Linked DNA regions of Homo sapiens: regions 1, 2 and 4 are each linked to region 3. Evidence: promoter capture Hi-C in human tissues and cell types (Jung and others, 2019). All regions are on one chromosome and are shown on one strand. Each heading gives the region's core, a stretch centred on a gene start or on the middle of the fragment in contact. The rest is flanking DNA. Distances are from core to core; before and after follow the strand shown.

Region 1 (6,161 bases), core at 1,629-4,128, 270 kb after region 3:
GGCACGTGCTTGTAATCCCAGCTATTTGGGAGGCTGAGACAGGAGAACTACTTAAACCCAAGAGGCAAAAGTTACAGTGAGTCCAGACTGTAGCACTGCACCCCAGCCTGGGCTACAGAGCAAGACTCTGTCTCAAAAAAAAAGAAGGAAAGAAAACAATAGAAAAGAAACCACTTCTCATACGTTTCAGACAAGATGGAAAAAAAGAACTTAAAAAATCATTTAACAGTTTCTCAAAATTATGTAGGTATTTCTGTGCCTCCAAAAAAAATGAGTAAGGATTCAGATTGCACAGTCTCTTGTATGCCATGAAGCGGACACTGGTTCTCACCGAAAACTTAAAGGAAAATTACCAAAAATGTAAACAGAAACCTTAGAGAATTTAAAAGCATAAGACAGAAAATGCTCAAATGTGAGAGCATAAAATACTCAGGCTTTCCAGAAATTATTTCCTTTAAAACACGGCTTCCCAAATCACATTTTAAGGACTGGCTTTCTCTTTGACCTTTGGACCTCTCATCAGTGTCACCTGTTGTATTCACTTTCATTCTCACTTACCTGGGGGTTCATTCACCATCTCATGTCTCTTCACAGTCAAAGGCTCTTTTTCTTGCTCCAGACAGGTGATCAGGTCTTGCTTAGAGACAGCAATACCTGTTTTATTAAAAAATAAATAACATTAATTTTGCTCATATTCTCCAATTACCAACCTAGTAATGTGCTCAGTAAAGAGAATGTAATGGAATAGTCTAGTAAATTAATCCCAAAATACTGACTTATAACAGAAATTTTTAAATACTTAGAAAATATTCTAAATTTGTAGGTTCTTAATTTCACTACCCAGTACTACTGAATCAAAACTTGGTGTTGGCAATTAGATTTTAAGGTGTGGGCAACAATATTTTATGCCACTAAACTTCTGAAATTACCACTAGAGTGAAGGACACAGATCAGCTCAGGAATGTGTTAAGTTCAGATCAAGATGAAACATACTAAAGAAATTCTTCTCTATACAGACAAATCCTTAAGATTTTCTCAAAAACAGGGATCTGAAACTCATTTATGCAAAGCATACATTACCAAAATATATTCTACAAAGAAGAGAAATGAAACCTTTACGGTATATTAGAAACTGTCTGTTGGGACAGGCATGGTGGCTCACACCAGTAATCCCAGCACTTTGGGAGGCCGAGGCGAATGGCTCATCTGAGGTCACGAGTTCGAGACCAGCCTGGACAACATGGTGAAACCCTGTCTCTACCAAAAATACAAAAAAAAATTAGCTAGGCATGGTGGCTCACGCCTGTAGTCCCAGCTACTTGGAAGGCTGAGGCACGAGAATTGCTTGAACCCAGGAGGCGGAGGTTGCAGTGAGCCAAGATCGCACCACTGCACTCTAGCCTGGTGACAGAGCCAGACTCCGTCTCAAAAGAAAAACAAAAAAAAAAAGAAACTGTGTGTTTAAGTTATCCTTACCCAGGAAGACCAGGTTTCTGTAGTTCTCTAAAATCACATTTTTATATAAATTCCGCTGTGCAGTGTCCAGGCATTGCCATTCTTCCAGAGAGAATTCTATGGCCACATCCCTAAATGTCAACAGTCCCTGAAAAACACATACACACAAACATATTCACCAGGTAGCCAACAGAGATTATAATTTGACTCAAGGTAAAATGAGAGACTAAAGAGAACAGGTTCTGATTTATAGGAGTGACTGAAATTATCCAATAAAATCATATTTTTTACACAGAAATATTTCCTAATGTGTTCTCTAACCCTGAGAAAACAGAGTGGCACAAGAGCCACAACACCAGTGTATATATAATAATTTTCTAAATAATAACATATATAATAGGTCAGGCACAGTGGCTCATGCCTTTAATCCCAGCACTTTGGGAGGCCGAGGCGGGCAGATTACCTGAGGTCGGGAGTTCCAAGACCCACCTGACCAACATGGAGAAACCCAATCTCTACTAAAAATACAAAATTAGCCAGGCGTGGTGGCGCATGCATGTAATCCCAGCTACTCAGGAGGCTGAGGCAGGAGAATCACGAGAATGGCTTGAACCTGGGAGGTGGAGGCTGTGGTGAGTGGAGATTGCAGTGAGCTGAGATCGTACCATTGCACTCCAGCGTGGGCAACAAGAGTGAGACTCCATCTCAAAAAAATACATAATTAAGGGCATAAACACAAACACGTAGCTTTTTGAGTGCTTCACAAGCTTCTGTGTAATAAATGCTATCTTGTTTAAATAATAGCTAATTGAGAACACAGATGGAGCCTCAACATTAGATGTTCTCCATTTTTACTAAGGACCGCAGGTTTTCCCAATAGAAATGTTGAGTTATCTACACCTTTGCATGTTCAATAGCCACAGGTAACATTTTTAATATTGCAGATTATAAAATAATCGTGAGAATTCTGCATGGCATATAAGAAGTCATGATGTAGAGAAGCCTCTGGTATATGGAAAAGAAGTATTTTTCAGAGACTCTTGACTATCATAAGAGTTTTTATAAGTAGTTAAAACAAATTCATTAGGGAGAAAAAACCCAAGTAGAGAAGTCAAAGTTTGCAAGTACTAAACGCATGGCATTCCAGGAGGCAGAGCGGACACAGCTCTTGATCTGAGACATGTTTAACTGAAAAAAAGCCATTTTTTCCTTTCTCTGAAAATTCTTTTCACATGCGATTCTCTGGACAAATTACACCTGCATCTGGAGAATATGCCTTTAAAGGTATCAGCACCACATGTTTACCTGGTACCACCACACTCACAGGCAGAAGGACCAAGACTCACAGAAAAAGTCCACCCATTTCTGTCCTTCATACCAGAAGCGATTCAGGAACCATGAGCTGCTCCACGGAGATAAAAGTAAAAGTTCCTTTTCTTCTGTCCTCAGGTGTCCTCCCCTGCCATGGACATCAGCAATTTCTGCTACAGCAATGAAAATACGGACCACACTTTCCTGTCACTACCAAACCAAACAGAACCAGCCCTTTGACCATTCTTTAGAGCAAAGGTAGAACTCTCATGAATATATCTTGAACCCCTCATACTTGATTTTGGCCTCATGTTAGAGTCACAAGAGGCACTTAATTAAAACAACATGGGCGGGAACAGTGGCTCACACCTGTAATCGCAGCACTTTGGGAGGCCAAAGTGGGCAGATCACTCGAGGCCAGGAATTTGAGAACAACCTGGCCAACATGGCAAAACCCCATCTCTACTAAAAATACACAAATTAGCCAGGCATAATGGTACGTGCCTGTAATCTCAGCTACTTGGAAGGCAGAGGCAGGAGAATCGTTTAAACCTGGCAGGCGAATGTTGCAGTAACCTCAGGTCGCACCACTGTACTCCAGCCTGAGCAACGGAGTGAGACTCCGTCTCAAAAACAAAAAACAAAACATGATACCTCCGCCCAGAAGAATAAACAGACCTGTGGATAGGGCACAAGTAGATATTTCTGCAAACTGGCCATGTAATCTTAATTAGAAACCTGGGCTGGGCATGGTGGCTCACACCTGTTATCTCAGCACTTTGGGAGGCCAAGACGGGGGGATCACTTGAGGTCAGGAGTTCCTGACCAGCCTGGCCAACATGGTGAAACCCCATCTCTACTAAAAATACAAAAATTAGCCAGCCGAGGTGGCACTTGCTTATAATCCCAGCTACTCAGGAGGCTGAGGCAGGAGAATCGCTTAAACCCAGGAGGTGGAGGTTGCAGTGAGCTGAAATCGCACCACTGCACTCCAGCCTGGGCACAGAGCAAGACCCCACCTCAAAAAAAAAAATCAAACCTGGGCTGAAAACCACTTAGCTGGGCATTGCCTTTAAAGCTTTAATGGGCTTAAAAAATACTTGGAAACTGTGGCTCCACTCTCTGTGATGTAATTCTGCAGACTTAGGGTTCATGAGTGGTTTTTTTGTTCTTTGGGTTTTTGTGTGTGTGTGTGATGGAGTGTCGCTCTGTAGCGCAGGCTGGAGTGCAGTGGCGTGATCTCGACTCACTGCAACCTCCGCCCCCTGGGTTCAAGCGATTCTCCTGCCTCAGCCTTGAGTAGCTGGGATAACACAGGCGCCTGCCACCACAAGCAGCTAATTTTTTGTGTATTTTAAGTAGAGGCAGGGTTTCACCATGTCGGTCAGGCTGGTCTCAAACTCCAGACCTCTAGTGATTCGCCCAACTTGGCCTCCCAAAGTGCTGGGATTAAAGGCATGAGCCATGGCAGCCAGCCATTAATGGGTATTTTAAACCCATTAATGTTCCCTATCAATTGCTTTTCTGGGGCTCATGATTAGCATTAGAGAAAGCAGGCACAGCATGGAGTCCCTTACACTCAGCACTCTTGTTACAACACAAATACTTCTCAAATGAAGACTACCAATTTTCATATTCTTTGCTGGCTCTTTAAAGTTTACAGAATAAACAGAAGGCAGCAACATCTAAATAAGTCTGCATGTGGAAACCATGAGGTACACATGTACTAATGAGGCAAGAGAATAGGGTCTGGAGGCAGGGAACCTAAGACCATTTCACACCGAATTCCTAGACCTAAATGGAAAGGAAAACTAACTTTCCATGCCTAAGTAACAAAAAGACCAGAGGCTACTGCCTTTGCAAATCCCCACCTTTTCTGTGAGGCAGATAGGAAATTGGCTGTCCACAACCATTCAGACTGATTGTGGGCTGAGTCTCTATTTGAATAAAAGTGACACTTTGTAACTTCACCTTAGCCTCTAATTGGTTGCTTTTGCAATCAATTGGATATTTGCAGAGGATTGTGACCTTTTTAACTTTGCTTCAGCATCTGATTGGTTTCTTCCTGCAACTAATCAGAGCAATTGTGGGCCACCACTTCATTTACATGAGGTGAGCACCAAGTGGCCAATGGGAAACCTCTAGGGGATATCTGAACCCAAGAAAATTCTGTTGTCTGGGACCTTAAGCCATTGTTCGGGCCCACTTTCACACTGCAGAGTGTAATTTCATTTTCAATAAACCCGTTTTGTTCCTTTGTTGCTTCATTCTTTTCTTGCTTTGCTGTTTCATCCAATTCTTTGTTCAAAAGGCCAAGAATCTGGACAACTTGCAGTCAAGACCCTCTACTGGTAACTTATTTTGGTGAGCCAGGCAGGAGAGGAGGTAGGCCCAAAGTATTGGATTTAATTTTTTCCTTTCTCCTTTTACATACAGGGAAGTCTTTCTCTCTTTTTCTCTTTCTCTCTCTTTCTCTCTCTCTCCTCCCCTCCCCCCAACCCAGGGCCACTTTTTGATGAAACTGAAAGGTTTCCACGTGCAAGTGCCTGACTACCACCTCACAGTTTGGGTGAGGGACCTGAGACCTTTCGTCTGTTTGTTTTTCTGAGTCCTATTGTTTTTGTCCTTTTTCTGAGACTGTGTCCGGAATTGGTGGGTTCTTGGTCTCACTGACTTCAACAATGAAGCCGCGGACCCTCGTGGTGAGTGTTACAGCTCTTAAGGTGGCGCGTCTGGAGTTTGTTCCTTCTGATGTTCAGATGTGTTCGGAGTTTCTTCCTTCTGGTGGGTTCGTGGTCTCGCTGGCTCAGGAGTGAAGCTGCAGACCTTCGCGGTGAGTGTTACAGCTCTTAAGGCAGTGCATCTGGAGTTGTTTGTTCCTCCCGGTGGGCTCGTGGTGTCACTGGCTTCAGGAGTGAAGCTGCAGATCTTCATGGTGAGTGTTACAGCTCATAAAAGCAGTGTGGACCCAAAGAGTGAGCAGTAGCAAGATTTATTGCAAAGAGCTAAAGAACAAAGCTTCCACACTGTGGAAGGGGACCCCAGCGGGTTGCCACTGCTGGCTCCGGCAGCCTGCTTTTATTGTCTTACCTGGCCCCACCCACATCCTGCTGATTGGTAGAGCCGAGTGGTCTGCTTTGACAGGGCGCTGATTGGTGCCTTTACAATCCCTGAGCTAGACACAAAGGTTCTCCACGTCCCCAGCAGATTAGTTACATACAGAGTATCGACACAAAGGTTCTCCAAGGCCCCACCAGAGTAGCTAGATAGAGTGTCGATTGGTGCACTCACAAACCCTGAGCTAGACATAAATGTTCTCCAAGGCCCCACCAGAGCAGCTAGATACAGAGTGTCAATTGGTGCACTCACAAACCTTGAGCTAAACACACGGTGCT
Region 2 (6,800 bases), core at 1,867-4,366, 400 kb after region 3:
TCTTAAAATAGTTTCAGTAGAAATAATACCAGCACTTTTTTGTACACAGCTGTGAATCTGTCTGGTCCTTGGCTTTATTTGGTTGGTTGGCTCTTTATTACTAATTCAATTTTTGAGCTTCTTACTCATCTATTTAGGGCTTTGATTTCTTTTTTGTTCATTCTTGGAAGGATGTATTTGTTCAATAATATTTTCATTTTTTTTAGATTTTCTTGTTTGTGTGCACAGAGGTATTAATAGTAGACTTAAATATATTTTTGTGGGGTCAATAGTAATGTCTCCTGTTATTTCTAATTGTGTTTATTTGGATCATCCCTTCTTCCTTCATTAATCTAGCTAGTGGTTTATTTATCTTATTTTTTTTTTCATAGACTTAATTCCTGGATTTCTTGATACTGATTTTGGTTATTTCTTGTCTGCTGCTAGCTTAGGGATTGATTTGCTCTTGCTTCTTTCATTCTTTTATTTATGATGTCAGGTTGTCAAATGAAGATCTTTCAAACTTTTTTAGCATTAAATGCTATAAATTTCCCTTTTAACACTACTTTAGCAGTATTGCAGATATTCTGATGTGTTGGTTTTTTATTTTTATTTATATTTATTTATTTATTTATTTTGAGATGGATTTTCGCTCTTGCTGCCCAGGCCAAGTGCAATGGCACGATCTCAACTCACTGCAACCACTGCCTTCCAGGTTCAAGCGACTCTCTGGCCTCAGCCTCCCAAGTAGCTAGGATTATAGGCATGTGCCACCATGATGGGCTAATTTTTGTATTTTTAGTAGAGATGGGGTTTCACCATCTTGGCCAGGCTGGTCTCAAACTCCTGACCTCATGATCTGCCTGCCTCGGCCTCCCAAAGTGCTGGGATTACAGGCATGAGCCACCATGCCCAGCCCTGGCCTGTTTTTTTGTTCTTATTTGTTTAAAAGAACTTCTTGGTTTTTGCCTTAATTTCATTATTTATCAAGAAGTTATTCAAGTGCCGGTTGTTTAATTTTTATGTAATTGTATGGTTTCAAGTTGTTTTCTTTTTGTTGAATTATATTTTTGTCAAGCTGAAGAGTTCTGTAGATGTCTATTAGGACTATTTGGTCAAGTGTTGAGTTTAGGTTCTAATGTTTTGTTAATTTTCTTCTTCAGTTATCTGTCTATTAGTGCCTGTGGGATGTTGTAGTCTCCCACTATTGTTGTGTCAGAATCTAAATCTCTTCATAGGTCTCTAAGAACTTGCTTTATTCATATGAACCCATGAATTTTATATAACACCTTTCTCTTTTCTGCTTTTTCTTCCGTAAACATTCTTTCCTGTGTGCACAATGTGCAAAATGTAGATGTCCATGAGTTCAAGAACATGTTTAGAGACCTAGCTGTTGTAAAAGAAAATATAAATTAGAAATAAGAGGCTTAATTAGTCCACATAAAAATAAGAGAAAATATCTTACTAAAATCTCTTTTCTTAAAACACTTAGATTATGTGTAGATTTTTATCTCCTTTTTTTGAAATATATGTAAATCATTAACAGCTAAATAAATCTTTGTTATGTATTTATTTTTTTTTTACTCACGATTGTCTTTATCTGGGACCTGAGATTAATTGCTTTGTTTCTGCTTTGGCAAAAGGTTATTCTTATTATTTTTAGTCTTTTAAAGTTGACACAGATTTGTTCACAGTAAAACTCATTCCAAGAGCACACAAAAGTTTAGCATAAAAATAGGATTAAATTTAGCAAAACAGAATTATAAGGACTAAAAGATATTGGTAATTTGATTGACAGAAACCTGTTTATCCAACATGATTATTTACAGGCTGAAGTACTTACACTACAAAAGCAAAAATAGTACAGTTTATAAACTGAACAGTGGAGTATATTGTCATACCTTGGTTTCTATTTATTACTTCAGTACAATTAGCATAGTTATGTGTGGTGTTGTTAGACAACCTGCATTCATATACATTTAATAGTATTTTCTACAATAGTATGAATATAAAGCCACAATGTCTACTTTGAATGAATTCCTTAATTCTTTTATTATTGTGATTCATACTTTTGAAATGTAAAGTTTTTCAATTGAAATACAGTTACAGAAATTTTTTAAAAAATCCTACATACATTATGACTAGTATGTTAAAATTATTCCTACTTACATATTTATATCTAATATCCAAAGAAATTTTACTACCACATTGTTACAGTAGATATTAGTCTGCTATGCTTATTAATTTAACCAATAGAGATAATTATAAGTAAGCATAATTTCAATGTCTTTCATTTCACAAATTGGAATGCTGCTATTGTAGGACAAATAAAGACAGATGATGTGGCCACCCAAAAACTGTAGTAGCTCTCCAGTTAGCTACCTTGCAGGTTCATGTATATTCCACTATATTAACACAGTCAGATTTTAATTTTTTATCAAAGTGCTGGTGGAAGTTGTCAGATATATTTGAATATAGATTCTGCATTCAAAGGCTAGAAAATTAGAGAGCAGCAGAGATAGAAAAAATATTTTATGATTCTGCTGATAATATACCTCTTTTCTTCATAATACTCATGTTTCTCATGCTGAGAGTAGCTATGCACTTTGGGTATTTAGAGAGAAATTGTTTTTGCAGGAATATTTTCTGGCTGACTTGATCAATCTTATATCTAATTTCAGTTTTTTCTTAAGATGCTTTTAACTTCTTTTTTTTCTCTCAATATAATCTTTCTCAGAGTGAGAGCTGTTTTTCTGTAGAATGCTTTGTGTATCTGTTTTAGAAGCCCTATTAGTATCCCATAATGTCTGTGAAAGACGTGGCTGTCACAGTGAGAACTCTTGGAGCTATCTCTATCTGGATGCATGCTGGAAATCTAGCAGTATATTTTCCATGTCACCATTATAAATAGAAACTGTGGCTTAAATAATGCTCTCATTTCCGTTATTGTGAAGGTGCAGTTCTACCCAGGGAGGCTCTCTTCCTGCAGCTCAGGCTTCACTCTTTGATGTGACACTAAAGTGCTGCTATGGCAATTGGCGTTCACCTATGATGTGAGCTGCCAGCTGTGAGCCCTGTGCTGTGGTCCATACCGCAGTGGCAGATGGTAGGAAACAAAAGAGGACACTGGCCACCAGAAGAGGGGAAGCCGGAGTACTGTAACCCCGTCCTCAGGGAGGAGAGAGGTACTGCTTTAAAATGCAAGTAGCCAAAAAGATAGCACCCTATTCAACCACTTTTGTAGAAGAGTGAAAGTCTGCCTTCAGCAGGCAGCTGGCTTCAAGTTGCAGAACTATCTTGTCAGGAAGATGTGAAAAGGTTATTTTGTCATTGAATATAACCAATTAGCATATATGGATGACCTCCCCAATGTCCAGGTGAATTTAGGATGAACTATGTATGACATGGTGCTGTGAATTCTTCTACTTGTGAACTATTTATGGTAACCATCTTTATGTCTTTTCGATCTCTTAAGCAGACTGACTGTAATACATTTGACATTCAGATTTAATTGTGTAATGAAAGAGTTTTCTTTTTCTTTTTTTTTTTTTTTTTTTGAGACAGAGTCTCGCTGTATTTCCCAGGCTGGAGTGCAGTGGTGTGATCTCAGCTCTTTGCAACCTCTGCCTGTCAGGTTCAAGTGATTCTCCTGCCTCAGCCTCCCAAGTAGCTGGGATTACAGGCACATGCCACTATGCCCGTCTTTTTTATTTTATTTTATTTTTTTTTATTTTAGTAGAGATGGGGTTTCACCGTGTTAGCCAGGATGGTCTCTATCTCCTGATTTCATGATCGACCCGCCTTGGCCTCCCAAAGCTGGGATTACTGGTGTAAGCCAGCATGCCCAACCTCTTTCTTTTCTATTATTGTGGTTTCTCTGGGGCTGAAGAGAATTTTTTTAAAATTATATTTCCTAGAATTACCGGACATAATATAAACAAATAAGGTGCCAACCAAGCTTTACTCTAGAGGGGACTTTCCCTCTCAGGCTTCTAGCCAACTCACAGTTATGCTGTAAAGTGCATACTGTCACCTAAATATGCAGGCAGAATTGTGTCTCTGCCTATTTGGTATCTATAGTCCTCCACAGTCACTTCTAGAGGGGCTAGAGCAGATTTCTACAAACTTTTTTTTTTTTTCTTAGATGGAATTTCACTCTTGTTGCCCAGGCTGGAGTACAGTGGCACAATCTCAGCTCACTGCAGCCTCCACCTCCTGGGTTTAAGTGATTCTCCTGCCTCAGTGTCCCGAGTAGCTGGGATTACAGGCATGCACCACCAAGCCTGGCTAATTTTGTATTTTCAGTAGAGACAGGGTTTTTCCATATTGGTCAGGCTGGTCTTGAACTCCTGACCTCAGGTGATCCACCCACCTTAGCCCCCAAAGTGCTGGGATTACAGGTGTGAGGCACCTCACCTGGCCTAGATTTCTACAAACTTAATAGGGCAGATATTAACCATTTTACTTCTTTCAATGACTCTTGTATCTTCAGACCTGAAACTGATTCAGAGACCATGGAGCCCAGAAACCCAATCAGTGTAACAAGTGTGCATTGAGTAGACATGGAGACATGAGAATCTCCACTTCTCTTTTTCTCCTCTTGCTAAAATGCTCACAATTGCAGGTAACACCTGCTGCTACTCCACCCATCCAGGACCTAAATCTGCAGCTCCAAATTCTAAATCTAGGTCTAGAAATTAAAAAACAAAACAAAACAAAAGTTTCATTTGAGAAATGCAAGTCTTTTTTTTTTTAGGGGAGGGTTGGGGGGGATGGAGTCTTGCTCTGTCACCAGGCTGGAGTGCAGTGGCGTGATCTCGGCTCACTGCAACCTCTTCCTCCCAGGTCAAGCTATTCTCCTGCCTCAGCCTCCCGAGTAGCTTGGATTACAGGCATGTGCCATCACACCTGGCTAATTTTGTATTACTTTTTTCAGCAGACATGGGCTTCACCATGTTGGCCAGTATGGTCTCGATCTCTTGACTTCGTGATCCACTTGCGTCGGCCTCCCAAAATGTTGGGATTACAGGCGTGAGCCACTGTGGCTGTCTGCCAGTCTTTTTACTTATAAAACTCAGACATTAAAATAAGAGCACAATTATGTCTTTCTCCCTACTTTCAACTATATATTGATCTCTTGAAGCTGTTCACTATTGCCAAAAGTAGGTATAAGTTAAACCAATAATAAGTTATTTATTTAAACAAATAAGAATTTCTCACAAACTAGTTTGTATCACCCCACTCTCTATCTCTCTTCTTTTTTTCCCTTCACAAATCCACTTGTAATTGCTGCTAATCAGTATAGATTCCAGGCATCTTGAATATTTCTTCTCAAGTTACAATGCTTAAGCTTGGCCCCAATAAACTGTGTACTTATATTCATGTTGTGTCAGCTTTTTTTTAGGTAAAATATTATTTAGAATTTTCTAGAGCAGTCTCTGTGAGTAGATTTCTCCTTTGATTGTACTCGCTGTAACAGCCAAAAATGCAAAGTGATGTTGATTTTATCTAGAATCTGCACATAAGGTCTGGTCTCTGCCTGGAATTTACAAGACAGGGCCAGACTTTAGATTGAGAATGTACAGAAAACCAACAGGAGGCATTTTCTGCATTGTGAGATGTCCACATAGACACTTCAGATCCCTCCTTTGAGAGTGTGACTCTTTGACCTTTTCACATTGCTACCTTTCTGTGAGAGGCTACAGGTTTAAATAGAATCTGATGGCAGAATCTCTAAGTGTAAACAAGCATCTTAGGAGTGAGAGATCAAGGCCACAAAGTAGCCAGAGCCCTGAGCACAACTATAGCTACCTGGAAAATGTGATACTAGAGTGTTATTGTCCAAAAGCTAGCTAATCAGGACAGGAGATCCAGGTTCTGGAGCTCCACCAGGATAGTTTCATTTTCTTTTTAGAATCAGCCTGAGTCTCTCCTGCTGGCTTATTATTGGTCCATCAGCCCAGGGTCACTGGAAATGCTCTCACAATCACCCAGGCATCTGAGACATTTGAGAATCTCCAGAACAATTGTGTCAGGCTGACAAGAGTGGTTAATTTTGCTTCTGTCTTACTGTAAAAGAAATGAATCATCTGGTGTGTGTTCCTCCCATCATACAAGAGATGTCTTTGGTTGGTACCCAGATGAGAGTTTCTCTGGTTCCCTGGTACTTGAGTGAAAAACAAGGAGGAGGTCTGGAGACTCAAACAGATAAATTGATTCCATTTCATATAGTCATTAGAAAAATAGATGAAGCAGTCATGGTCCCTACCATGCAAGAACTTTTAGTCTTGACTATCAACTGGATAAATGATTTAATTATGCATCATATGGTGGGTACAATAAATAGACATGTGCAAAAATATGGGATATATTTGCACCATTTTCTTTATATTGTTAAGACTTCTGATGTCTACACCTGAACATATATTTATAAACAAGAGTTATTATTTGCATTTTTTAGCTTGCTAAGAACACTTATTTATCTTCTAAAAAACTATTTTAGAAAACCTTAAGAGATTTGTTAAATTGCTTATTAGTATGTGATATAACCTTGAGAGGGGAGTGGGGTTTAAAAAGATTAAAAATTATACAAACTCTGAGATTTAATTTTTTTTTTTTTTGGTACACTTAAAAAATGAAACAGAACTGAAAATACTCCCCAGTGGCACAAAAAACAGAATTTTACATTAGCTCTACACCCTGTCCCAACCCTGATCAGATTCACCCTTTTTGAAGACCTTATTTAGGTGTGGCCATACTCTGGAGTCTTGTCTCACAGAACTAACTAGAAGAGATCAGAGTTTTGGGTGATGCATCCTGTT
Region 3 (6,160 bases), core at 328-2,827:
GGAGACTGAGAGAGGAGAATCATTTGAGCCCAGTAGGCGGAGGTTGTAGTGAGCCTAGTGCGTCACTGCACTCCAGCCTGGGTGACAGAGCAAGGCTCTGTCTCAAAAATTAAAAATAAAAATGATTAAAATCGGTATCAAAATGTACACTACAGGACAAATAGTTGATAAAGTGAATTAGGGAGGGGAAATTGGCATTTGGGAATGTCAGACGAAACTGGAAATTTAGTATTTTACTGCAAGCCAGAGTTAGGCTGGAGGAACAGGGGATGAGGGGTGGACTTGAGGCCCTGCTTGAGACACATGTAAAAAATTCAGGGAAAAATCGTCCCCTTTTGAGTGTGAGAAAAATTAAGTGGCAGGCAATTAGATTGAGGTGGCTCTAGTCCTCGGATTTCTACTTCTAAAAATAAAAATCTAAACTCAAGAGCATTTTTTGGTAAATTACTACATTGGCAGAAGCAAAATTTAGGCTTAAGCAACTATAAACTGCCAATTAAGCTCTGATTACATAAGAAGGATATTTCCACCTAGATTGTAAAAATTAAGAAACTAGGCCAGGTGCGGTGGTTCACGCCTGTAATTCCAGCACTTTCGGAGGCCAAGGTGGGTGGATCACCTAAGGTCAGGAGTTCCAGACCAGCCTGGCCAACAAGGTGAAACCCCGTCTCTCCGAAAAATAAAAAAATTGGCCTGGTGTGGTGGCAGGCGCCTGTAATCCCAGCTACTAGGGCTGAGGCAGGAGAATCGCTTGAACCCGGAAGGCAGAGGTTGCGGTGAGCCGAGATCACGCCACTGCACTCCAGCCCGCGCGAGAGAGCAAAACTCCTTTTCAAAAAACAAAACAAAACAAAACCTACATAACTGTACCTAGCAAATTACTGAATTTGGTTTTCTTTACCATGAACCTTATAAAAATATCTCCTTCAAGGCCTTTCATAGACCACAAATTACAAACCATAGCTGGGTGCTCTACAATGTTTGAATCACTCTTTGATTAAATTATTTAATCTTTTCGCGGTGACGCCCATAAATTTTTAATAGAAAAAAAGAGGCCCTGGGAACCCCACGGACTAAAGTGCTTCCTATTCATGAGCCAGCACCTCCAGTCAGGATTCTCCCCTGACGACCCTCCCGTGATCCCTGCACAATCTGGGAGAGACGCGGCGCTGCGGGAGCAGAGCTGCCCAGAGAGGGCTCCAGGCCAGGACACAGTCACTGGGCAGGGAAGAGACAGGACGCCCGGAGCCCGCCTGTCAACGCAGCCGCCATCTTATCGCTGAAGGGGACTGAGGCCGAGCTGGGCAAGGAGAACCCGGGCACGGATTGTGGAGCTGACTGAAGGAAGGCCTGAGGCTCGCCACAGCCGCATCCCACCGGTTTCAACGAGCCCCGTTCCCTCTCTCGGGACGTCGCACCTGGCAGTCTCACCATTTCTAGGCTTCCAGGGGTTCCTGGCATCTTAGCTGTGGCTCTCCAATACCTGCAGGTCACAGGGCCACACAGGCTGGGCCTCCTGGAGCAGAGGACACAGAGCAGTGAAGTCGAGACCTGGAAACTCCGGCGGCAGCGAGAGACAAAGGCCCAGCCACATCCCGGAAGCCGCCCTGTCCGCTCCAGCTTTGTGCCTGATTGGACAGTTCCCAGCCCAGCGTCCCTGATTAGATAACGTTTAAGGCCCCGCCTTCTCAGGCCCTGAGTGACAGAAGATGTGATCAGACACTGGGCTGAATGAAGAAAGAGTGACAGCGTAGGCTGCAGCCTTTTCAGGCAGGGCTTCCTCAGCTCAGCCAGGCCCACCTCAGAGCATGGGAAAATCCTCTCTCTTCTTTGCTCTCTTTCAATGTATTCAAAATGTGAACAAAAATATTTGATGTATATTAATAATACATAAAATTTTTGTTCCAGAGAAAATCAACTTTTACTTTATTGTGTATTATCAATAATAAAGCTAATTTGATAAAACATTGTAAGTCTCTCAGCCGGGCGCCGTGGCTCACACCTGTAATCCCAACACTTTGGGAGGCCGAGGCAGGTGGATCTCCTGAGGTCAGGAGTCCGAGACCAGTCTGGCTAACATGGTGAAACCCCATCTCTACTAAAAATACAAAATTATTGAGCATGGTGGTGCGTGCCTGTAATCCCAACTACTCGGGAGGCTGAGGCAGGAGAATTGCTAGAACCCGGGAGGCCAAGGTTGCAGTAAGCCTAGATCGCGCCAATACATTCCAGACTGAACAATAAGAGTGAAATTCCATTTCAAAAAAATGAAAAATAAAATATAAAAATTAGCTGAGCATGGTGGCACACGTCTGTAATCCCAGCTACTCCGGAGGCTGAGGCAGGAGAATCGCCTGAACCCGGGAGGCGGAGGTTGTAGTGAGTTGAGATCATGCCACTGCACCCCAGCAAAAAATAAAAATAAAAATACATTAAAATTTTTTTGACCTCTCTAGATTTTTATACATATTTTATGATCTCTTATAATTTTTTAATTTTTTTTTTTTGAGACTGAGTCTTGCTCTGTGGCCCAGGCTGAAGTCCAGCGGCACGATCTCGGCTCACTGCAACCTCTGCCTTTCAGGTCCAAGGGATTCTCCTCCCTCAGCCTCTGGAGTAGCTGGGATGACAGGTGCACCACCACACCTGACTAATTTTTTGTATTTTTAGTAGAGATGCGGTTTCACCATGTTGGCCAGGCTGGTCTCGAACTCCTGGCCTCAGGTGATCCACCTGCCTTAGCCTCCCAAAGTAGTGGGATTACATGGGTAAGCCATGATGCCGGTCCATTGTTTAACTTTTTATATTTCATTTTAATCTACATTATTTTTACTTTTTCAATTTGAAGGAACCTTTAAGTAATTTCAAAGCAGACAAATGTTTCTAACTTTCTTCATCAAAAGCATATTTTGCTTTTGTTTATACTCTCTCTATTTTCTTTTAATTTCCAAGAGAGAAGCTTGTTCTGTCACCCAGGCTGAAGTGCAGTGGCATGATTTCAGCTCACTGCAACCTCCACCTCCCAGATTCAAGCGATTCTCCAGCCTCAGCTTCTGGAGTAGCTGGGATTACAGGCGTGCGCGATCATGCCCGGTTTATTTCCTTATTTGAAGTAGTGACTGGAATTTGCCATGTTGCTCAGGCTGGTCTCGATCTCCTAAGCTCAAAATGATCTGCCTATCTCGGCCTCCTAAAGTGTTGGGATTACAAGGCGTGAGCCACAACACCTGGCCTTAAACATTCTCTTTGAAGAATTAGTTTTTTTACATCTAGTGGTCTTTTATTAATTACATTAACCCTTAACAAACTAATTTTTAGTGAAATCCCTAGGAAGTAATTTTGAACTGTTTTATATTAATATTTGTAGATAAAAAACATTTATATATTTTAATGTTAAATACAGTGAGTTCTAAATTGCTCTTCAAAGAATCAGTATGTCAGTATATTCAGCTCCCTGTTCTTCATTCTCCATTTTAAAGTTTAACTTCTTTGTTGTTTTTGTCTCCAGTTTTAGTAAACAACCTTCCCGCCAGTTCTAATCAGTAGTTTACATCTGTACCCCTGGTCACCTGCTCCATCCTGAGTCACCCCTGGTCACCTGCTCTGACCTGAGTCACCTTGGTCACCTGTTCCATAACAGTAGTTCCCACCCAAACTGCTCACCCCACCACTCTGGCTTGTACTCCTCCTCTCTTTAAAATAGCCAATGGGAATTAGCTTAGACTGTGCAGTCCAACCCTAGCCAATAGGGGAATGACACAGCAGTAGGGGCTACCTGCATCAGGGCTAAGAACTCCTTTCCCTCCCTTGTTCAGGTGTGCTCTTGCCATTGCTCCATTCGCAAGATGCACCCTTCTATAAAAGTAAATATTGTCTTGCTGAGAAAATTTACATTCAAGTACTATTTCCTTTGCGGCATCAAAAATTTGCTTCTAACATTTAATAAAAGATTTTTTTTTTAATTTTCTGTAAACGAATCTAAATATAGTTAGCTTTTTTATAACATATTAAAGATTCTGGGCTGGGTGCAGTGGCTCACGCCTGTAATCCCAGCACTTTGGGAGACTGAGGTGGGTGGATCATGAGGTCAGGAATTCAAGACCAGCCTGGCAAATATGGTGAAACCCTGTCTCTGCTAAAAAATACAAAAATTAGACAGGCATGGTGGCGTGCTCCTGTAGTCTGAGCTACTCAGGAGGCTGAGGCAGGAGAATCACTTGAACCCAGTAAGCAGAGGTTGCAGTGGGCCGAGATCGCACCACTGCACTCCAGCCTGCTGACAGAGTGAGACTCCGTCTCAAAAAATAAAAAGTAAAATAAAATAAAAAAATTATAGTCAGGCATGTTGGCTCATGCTTATAATCCCAGCACTTTGGGGGAGCAAGTAATGAAGACTGTTTAAGCCCAGGAATTTGAGACCAGCCTGGGCAACATGGCAAAAACACATGTCTAAAAAAAATTTAAAAATTAACTGAGCATGGTAGCCTGCACATTTAGTACCAGCTATTCAGGAGGCTGAGGGAGGAAAATTGCATGAGCCCAGAAGTCGAGGCTGCAGTGAGCCCTCATTGAGCCACTTCACTCTATTCTGGGTGACAGAGACCTTTTCTAAACAAAACAAAACAAAACAGCCAAAACATAGAAAGTTAAACTTACGGGGTTTTGTGTTTTTTTGTTTTTGTTTGTAATTATTATTACTTCCAAAGTTTTTAAGGTACAGGTGATGTTTGGTCACATGGATAAGTTCTTTTGTAATCATTTCTAAGATTTAGGTGCACCCATCTCCCAAGCAGTGTGCACTGTACCCAATATGTAGTCTTTTATCCCTCACCCCTCTCTCCCGCCCTTTCTGCTGAGTACCCAGAGTCCATTACATAATTCTTATGCCTTCGCATTCTCATAGCTTAGTTCCCACTTATAAGTGAGAACATACAATGCTTGGTTTTTTATTGCTGAGTTACTTAGAATAATGGTCTCCAACTAAATCGAGATTGCTGCAAATGCTATTATTTTATTCCTCGTTAGGGCTGAGTAGTATGCATTGGTATATATATGCCACATTTTCTTTTTCCACTCATTAGCTGATGGGCATTAGGCTGCTTCCATATTTTTGCAATTGCAAATTGTGCTGCTATAAACATGTGTGTGCAAGTGTCTTACACATATAATTTCTTTTTCTTCATGTAGATACACAGTAGTAGAATTGCTTAATCAAATGGTAGCTTTACTTTTATTTAATGAATCTCCATACTGTTTTTCATAGTGGTTGTACTAGTTTACATACCCACCAGCAGTGAAAAAGTATTCTTTTTTCACCACAGCCACGCCAACATGTATTATTTTTTGATGTTTTAATCATGGCCGGTTTTGCAGGAATATATTGGTTTGGTTCAGAAAGGCGGGACAACTCAAAGCGGGCGGCTTCCAGGTAAATTTAAATATTTTGTGGTTGACAAGTGGTGGAATCTGAAGACCTGGGATCAATGAAAGGGAAGGTTTAGGTTAAGGTAAAGGATTGTGGAGACCAAGTTTTATTGTACAGAGGAATCTCTCAGATAGGTGAATTAAAAGAGAGAGCAGTTTGTAAAATGTTTATTAGACCTAAACGGGTGCCTGGCTCTTAGTTGATTATCTCCTGGATCTGCAAAGAAAAAAAGGAAAACAAAAGGGGAAGGGGATTCTCTACAAGGCCTAGGCATGAGAGGAGAGTCACATCAAGTTAAGTACTGGGCCACGTGACATATCACAATCCCCATGTGGACACATTCCAGTAAGACAACACCTAGGTGCTGGGCCCAGGAACATATGACTGTGTCTTTTATAGGCAAACACAGGGTAGAAGAGGGGAGGGGATAACAATCAAACATCTGATGGGCCAAGAGATATGTCACAATGCCCCCTGTGGGCAGGGTCCAGGCTGGAGACACATATCACCTTGGCGTTGGGCCCATGAATATGTGACAGTGCCTTCTGAGGGCAGGCCCAAGGCAAAAGAGTAACATCATTATGCGGCTGGGCCCAGTGGTTTGTTACAATCTCTGCTGCAGTTGAAACCTAGAAAGAAGAGAAGAATCAGGCCAGGTGCAGTGGCTCATGCCTGTAATTCCAGTACTTTGGGAGGCCGAGGCAGGAGGATCACCTGAGGTTAGAAGTTCGAAAC
Region 4 (6,496 bases), core at 2,377-4,876, 440 kb after region 3:
CCTCTGCGCTATGTGGACATTGCCATCCCATGCAACAACAAGGGAGCTCACTCAGTGGGTTTGATGTGGTGGATGCTGGCTCGGGAAGTTCTGCGCATGCGTGGCACCATTTCCCGTGAACACCCATGGGAGGTCATGCCTGATCTGTACTTCTACAGAGATCCTGAAGAGATTGAAAAAGAAGAGCAGGCTGCTGCTGAGAAGGCAGTGACCAAGGAGGAATTTCAGGGTGAATGGACTGCTCCCTCTCCTGAGTTCACTGCTACTCAGCCTGAGGTTGCAGACTGGTCTGAAGGTGTACAGGTGCCCTCTGTGCCTATTCAGCAATTCCCTACTGAAGACTGGAGCGCTCAGCCTGCCACGGAAGACTGGTCTGCAGCTCCCACTGCTCAGGCCACTGAATGGGTAGGAGCAACCACTGACTGGTCTTAAGCTGTTCTTGCATAGGCTCTTAAGCAGCATGGAAAAATGGTTGATGGAAAATAAACATCAGTTTCTAAAAAAAAAAAAAAAAAAAATGCTGCAATAATTATGAGTCTATAAATGACTACTTATATGACCATATATGTGAAAGTTTATATATGTGCTGCATTCTATTTTATTAGTCTACTTTTTCACCTTTATACTCATATCAAATTGTTTAATTTGGTAGCTTTGTAATGTGTTTTGAATCAGGCACTTTAATGCCTGCAGCATTCTTTCTTTCTTTTTTTTTTTTTAATATTGTTGGGTAGTTTGTTTTTCTTTTGAGTCTCTGTATACTTTTGAGGTTGGTGTTTCTATTTCTTCAAAAATGCAATGAGAAATTTGAAAAATATTGCATTAAATCTGTAGATTGCATTGAGCAGGATGGACTCTGCAATATTAAGTATTTCAACCTTTGTGTAAGAGCACACTCAAGAGTGTGTTGTTTAGTTTCTATATATTTGTAAATTTTTCAGTTTTTTTTTTTTGCTTTTATCGTTGTATATTCTCATTCCATTTTGGTCATAGAATGTAGTTCATAGAAATTTACTTTTAAAAAATTTGATAAGACTTCCTTTTTGTCCTAAGATGTGGTCTTTCAAGGGAAATGTTGTATGAGCTATTGAGAAGGGTGTGTATTCTGATGTTGTTGAGGAGTGTTCTCCATAACTCTGTTTGGAATAATTGTTTTATACTGCCTTTAAGTAGTCTGTTCTTTTATTAACATTCTTTCTTGTTTTAGTTTTATTACAAAAAGTGTGGTATTAAAATATATTGTTCTAATTATATTGCTTTCTGTGTGTTTCTTCCATTCTGTCAATATTTGCTTTATATACTTGGAACCCTAATGTGAGACACACACACACACACACACACACACACACACAAATTTGTCATAGATTCCCTGTGAATGAATCTATTATTTTTTGATGTCCTTCTTTGTTTCTTTGGAGTTTCAATTTCAAGCACATTTTATAAAATATTATACTTTCTGACTTAAGATGTAGCTTGTGTGATATTATTTTGACTCTTTCTGCTCTTATTTGATTAATGTTTGCATGGAATGTCTACTTCCATCCTGCCACTTACAGTCTTTTTTAATTATTAGACTTACTGTTATTTTATTATGCATTTTATTTGATTATTGCATCTTTGTGTCTTATTCTCTTTCCATCTTTGTGTCTTTTTGATGTTTGCATTGATATGCTTTCGCTTATTTATTTATTTATTTGTTTGAGACTGAGTTTTACTCTTGTTGTCCATGCTGGAGTGCAATGGCATTGATCTTGGCTCACCGCAATCTCCGCCTCCTGGGTTCAAGCAATTTACCTGCCTCAACCTCCTGAGTAGCTGAGATTACAGGCAGGTGCCACCATGCCTGGCTAATTTTGTATTTTTAGTAGATATGAGGTTTCTCCATGTTGGTCAGGCTAGTCTTGAACTCCTGACTTCAGGTGATCCACCCGCCTCGGCCTCCCAAAGTGCTGGAATTACAGGCATAAGCCACCATGCCCAACCTCTTTTGTGTATTTATACAAATATTTTTGTGGTACCTTGGGGACTACATATAATGTCTAAAAGATACAACAATACATTTTAATCTGGTAGAAAAACAGGTTGCATACAAAAATTCTTCTTTATTACATCTTCCCTCAAATTTGTCATTGATGTTGCTAATTATATCTTATGTTGTATGTTCATTAACTGATGTTTATAATGATTTCTATTCTTTTATTGTTCAAATTTCAGAGAATAATTAAAAATGTTTTCTGCGTCACTAGGATAATGCTAATAAATTCTACAAAGTGAATTTGCATATTTTTTCTAGAAAATAATGTATTTTTATATAATTATGTGTAGCTTTTTGAATCATGTTATTTTCAGTAAAAGGAACTGTTGTTAGCACCTTTTATATGTAGGGCATATGCAGTTCCAATATACTTTTTTAGAATTTCATTACTTTGGAAGGTTTTTTTTTTTTATTTGGCAGGATAGATTCACTGATGGTATAATTCTCACTTAATAGGTATTTTTTTTAACAACTTTTTCATGACTCCATAACATAGTTCTTTTTTTGAGACTAAACGTCTCTCTATCCCCCAGCCAGGCTGGAGCATAGTGGTATGACTTCAACTCACTGCAACCTCCACTTCCCAGGTTCAAGTGGTTCTCCAGCCTCAGCCTCCTGAGTAGCTGGTATTACAGGCATGTGCCACCACACCCAGCTAATTTTTGTCGTTTTGGTAGAGACAGGGTTTCACCATCTTGTCCAGGCTGGCCTTGAACTCCTGACCTCAGGTGATCCGTCCACCTCTGCCTCCCAAAGTGCCTGGATTACAGGCAGGAGCCACCATGCCTGGCCTGGCACATCACTTTTATCTTGCAGCTTCAAAGATAATCTTTTTGTCTTTGACTAGAAATTGTGGTTATATACATGTTTGTTATAAATATCTTTCTGTGATACTAGTTTGTTGTACTTCTTTATTTTTACATCATATTTTCTTTTAGGATCTATTAGTTTTTTTTAAATTTTTTTACCTCCACAATTTTTGTTTTTTTGAAATCTTAAATATTTTTGTTCTTGTCCTCATTTTTCTGAATTTCCATAGTTGTCTCTGTTCCTATTTTAATCAATGAGAACTATTCAATTTATTACCAATTATTAAAAGTAATTTATACCTCTGATTTTTTTTATGCTTTCTTTCAGAAAAATTTATAATATTTTTGCTGGGATCATATTGCCCTATTTTGTATATTTTATCTTTGATTGTGATTTGGACATTAAAAAAAGCTACCTGTCAAAATCTTTATAATGTTGTTCTGTCCTGGCATAGTCTGAAAACAATTGTTTTGGCTGGTGATTATGGGAGTTTCTCACACATATTCTTAGGATATGTGCTGTCTGAAATTTTGTGTTTAATTTTTAATTAACAGAGTTTACTCTTGTTATTTTGTAGGAGTCAGAAATCACTTGCTACACCTGTTCCTTTTCTGTGGTACTGCTGTCAGTCTGCTGCTCTACCACTTTTTTTTTTGGTCTCAGCTGACTCAAACTCTCATTTCAAAATATGCCACCATTTCTTTCAGCACTTTATGTCATGAGAGACTGAAACAAGTGTCAGAAAAGGTCCCTAAAAGTCAGAAATAACAACGAATGTGCCAGTATTTTAGCTTTCTTTTAAAACAGAAACCAAGAGTTAGGAATTTACTTCTGAAGGTACTACGTTATAGTGGAAAGCAGGAAAAGCTGTGTTGGGTGAATTTAACACTTCCTTTTTTTCTTTGTGCTCACCTGGAACACTGCACACACTTATTTATAAATTTTTTACAGATGTATTTGGGTCTGTATATTTTAGTTACATTTATATATCTATAAATGAATTAGAGCCTGTGGTATTTTGCAATGCCCTCTTGTTTATGTATTTGGTATAATTTTAAAGGTAAGATTTTAAAACTATATCCATGTGAGTCTAGTAGGTGGAGTAATTTATTATTTTTATTTTTATTTTTTTAGGTATATGCCCTCATTTTGCTTAAGACCTCTGGCCAGAGCAGGGCATGGAAGATTCCTTTTAAAAAGTAATACTGAGAAGACATGAAAAATGTGGACATGATAATTTACTGTTGAGAAATGGCTGTAAAAGTGTGGATGAGTGTCAGGTGCACAAAGAAGGTTATAATGGACTTAACAAGTGTTTCACAACTACTCAGAGCAAAGTATTTCAATGTGGTAAATGTTTGAAAGTCCTTTATAAATTTTTAAATTCAAACAAAAAATAAGATATACTGGAAGAAAACCTTTCAAATGTCAAAAATGTGTCAAATCATTTTGCATGCTTTCACACAAAACCCAACATAAAAGCATTTATACTAGAGAGAAGTCCTACAAATGTAAAAAATGTGGAAAAACCTTTAATTGGTCCTCAATCCTTACTAATAATAAGAAAATTCATACTGAACAGAAACCTTACAAATGTGAAGAATGTGGCAAAGCTTTTAAGCAACACTCAACCCTTACTACACATAAAATAATTTGTGCTGAAGAAAAACTTTACAGATGTGAAGAATGTGGCAAAGCATTTTGCCAGCCCTCAACCCTAACTAGATATAAGAGGATGCACAGAAGAAAGAAACTCTACAAATGTGAAGAATGTGGCAAAGCGTTTACCCAGTTCTCAACCCTTACGAAACATAAGAGAATTCATACTAGAGGGAAACATTACAAGTGTGAAGAAAGTGGCAAAGCATTTATCTGGTCCTCAGGCCTTACTGAACATAGGAGAGTCCATACTAGACAGAAACCCTACAAATGTGAAGAATGTGGCAAAGCATTAATTCAATTCTCAACCCTAACTAGACATAAGAGGATACACACTGGAGAGAAACCCAACAAATCTATGTGGCAAACCTTTTAGCCAAAACTCAAACCTTACTATATATAAGATAATTCATACTGAAAAGAAACCCTACAAATGTCAAGAATGTGGCAATGCTTTTAGCCAGTCCCCATACCTTACTACACATAAGGTAATTCATACTGGGAGAGACCCTACAAATGTGAAGAAGGTGGCAAAGCATTTCTATGGTTCATTACCCTAACTGGTCATAAGAGGATGCACACTGGAGAGAAACCCTACAAATGTGAAGAATATGAAAAAGCTTTTAGCCAGTCATCAATCCTTACTCGACATAAGATAATTCATACTGGAGAGAAACCCTACAAATGTGAAGAATGTGGCAAAGCTTTCAGCCAGTCCTCAACCCTTACTACACATAAGAGAATTCATACTGGAGAGAAACCCTACAAATGTGAGGAACGTGGCAAATCTTTTAACCTGTCTTCAAGCTTTACTAAACATAAGGTAATTCACAGTGGAGTAAAACCCTACAAGTGTGAAGAATGTGGCAAAGCCTTTAGGCAGTCTTCAATTTTTGCTAACCATAAGAGAATTCATACTGGAAAGAAACCCTACAAGTGTGAAGAATGTGGCAAATCTTTTAACCTGTCTTCAAGCTTTACTAAACATAAGGTAATTCTTACTGGTTTAAAACCCTACAAATGGGAAGAATGTGCCAATGCCTTTTCCTGGTCCTCAGCCCTAACTAAACATAAGAAAATTTATACTTGAAAGCAACCCTACAAATGGGAAAAATTTGGCAAACCTTTAATCCTTACAACTTAATGCACATAAGATAACTTATATTGAAGAGAAATATTACAAGTGTGAATAATGTGTCAAAGCCTATAAAAAGTCCTCAATTCTTTACAGACATAAGGTTATTTATACTGGAGAGAAACTTTGCAAACCTGAAAGATGTGCCAATGCTTTTGACAACAACTTAAGCTTTTCTAAACATAAAGAAAATCATGCTGCTGAGAATCCTAGAAGTGTGAAGAATGTGACAAAGCCTTTAAATGATTGTCACACTTGATTGTAGGTAAGGTAATTCATACTGGAGATAACTATCAGTGTGTACAATGTGGCCAAGCTTCTAACTAATGCTCACACGTTATTGCACAGGAAAGCATTTATAAGCATTTATACTTGAGAACAAATGTGCAAATATAAAGTAAAAAAGCCATTAATACCTGCTCACATCTTACTCAAAATCAGATAGTTCATATGAAATAAAAGCATAAAAGTGTAATTACTGTCCAAAGATCTATTAGAAAATATGTCTTTAAAGTGCAGAAGAGTATTTACTTTAAAAAAGCACTACAAATATAAATAGGGTTGTAATACCTTTACTTGTATCAGAAATCTTATTGTACACATTTTGTGCTAGAGGAAAACCCTGAGGCAGTTGTTAAAATTTTGTCCAACATCAGTGAGTTTATATTGAAGAAAACCCTGCAAATATAATAAATTTGGAAAAACATTTTTTCAAAAACTACAAATTATAAAACACCAAAGAGTTTATACTAAAATATATTTTTGCAGGTGCAGTAAAGATGAAAGATATTTAATCCAAAATTGTCTATGTAAATATCAGAATAATCCACAGTAGAAATATCTAGGGCCACTCAATG

The links. Contacts are between HindIII fragments. The study calls those that stand out against the background at their distance.
Region 1: a fragment that was not itself captured here is called in contact with the fragment with the promoter of ZNF91 in region 3 in 1 of the 25 tissues and cell types used here (dorsolateral prefrontal cortex).
Region 2: a fragment that was not itself captured here is called in contact with the fragment with the promoter of ZNF91 in region 3 in 1 of the 25 tissues and cell types used here (mesendoderm cells).
Region 4: a fragment that was not itself captured here is called in contact with the fragment with the promoter of ZNF91 in region 3 in 4 of the 25 tissues and cell types used here (H1 embryonic stem cells, mesenchymal stem cells, spleen and 1 more).

What each region holds. Positions count from the first base shown.
Region 1 is chr19:23,661,556-23,667,716 of GRCh38, forward strand. ZNF675 (zinc finger protein 675) reads right to left here. Exons shown (of 4, transcript NM_138330.3): 2 at 1,477-1,603; 3 at 559-654. Among named protein-coding and RNA genes, the nearest start is that of ZNF675, 23 kb to the right of the region's middle. RefSeq lists an enhancer at 4,310-5,050. The HindIII fragment of the contact is 3,871 bases long and covers 944-4,814 here.
Region 2 is chr19:23,796,511-23,803,310 of GRCh38, forward strand. All of the region lies in intron 1 of RPSA2 (ribosomal protein SA 2), which reads left to right. It also overlaps the pseudogene BNIP3P39. Among named protein-coding and RNA genes, the nearest start is that of RPSA2, 37 kb to the left of the region's middle. The HindIII fragment of the contact is 3,034 bases long and covers 1,600-4,633 here.
Region 3 is chr19:23,393,894-23,400,053 of GRCh38, forward strand. ZNF91 (zinc finger protein 91) reads right to left here and starts at 1,578. Exons shown (of 4, transcript NM_003430.4): 1 at 1,432-1,578. The coding sequence starts at 1,461. It overlaps LINC01224 (long intergenic non-protein coding RNA 1224), which reads right to left. Exons shown (of 5, transcript NR_126449.1): 5 at 5,340-6,160. RefSeq lists an enhancer at 980-1,848. The HindIII fragment of the contact is 10,945 bases long and covers 1-6,160 here.
Region 4 is chr19:23,827,618-23,834,113 of GRCh38, forward strand. It overlaps RPSA2 (ribosomal protein SA 2), which reads left to right. Exons shown (of 4, transcript NM_001355283.3): 4 at 1-1,251. The coding sequence ends at 432. It also overlaps the pseudogene ZNF726P1. Among named protein-coding and RNA genes, the nearest start is that of RPSA2, 68 kb to the left of the region's middle. The HindIII fragment of the contact is 3,080 bases long and covers 2,087-5,166 here.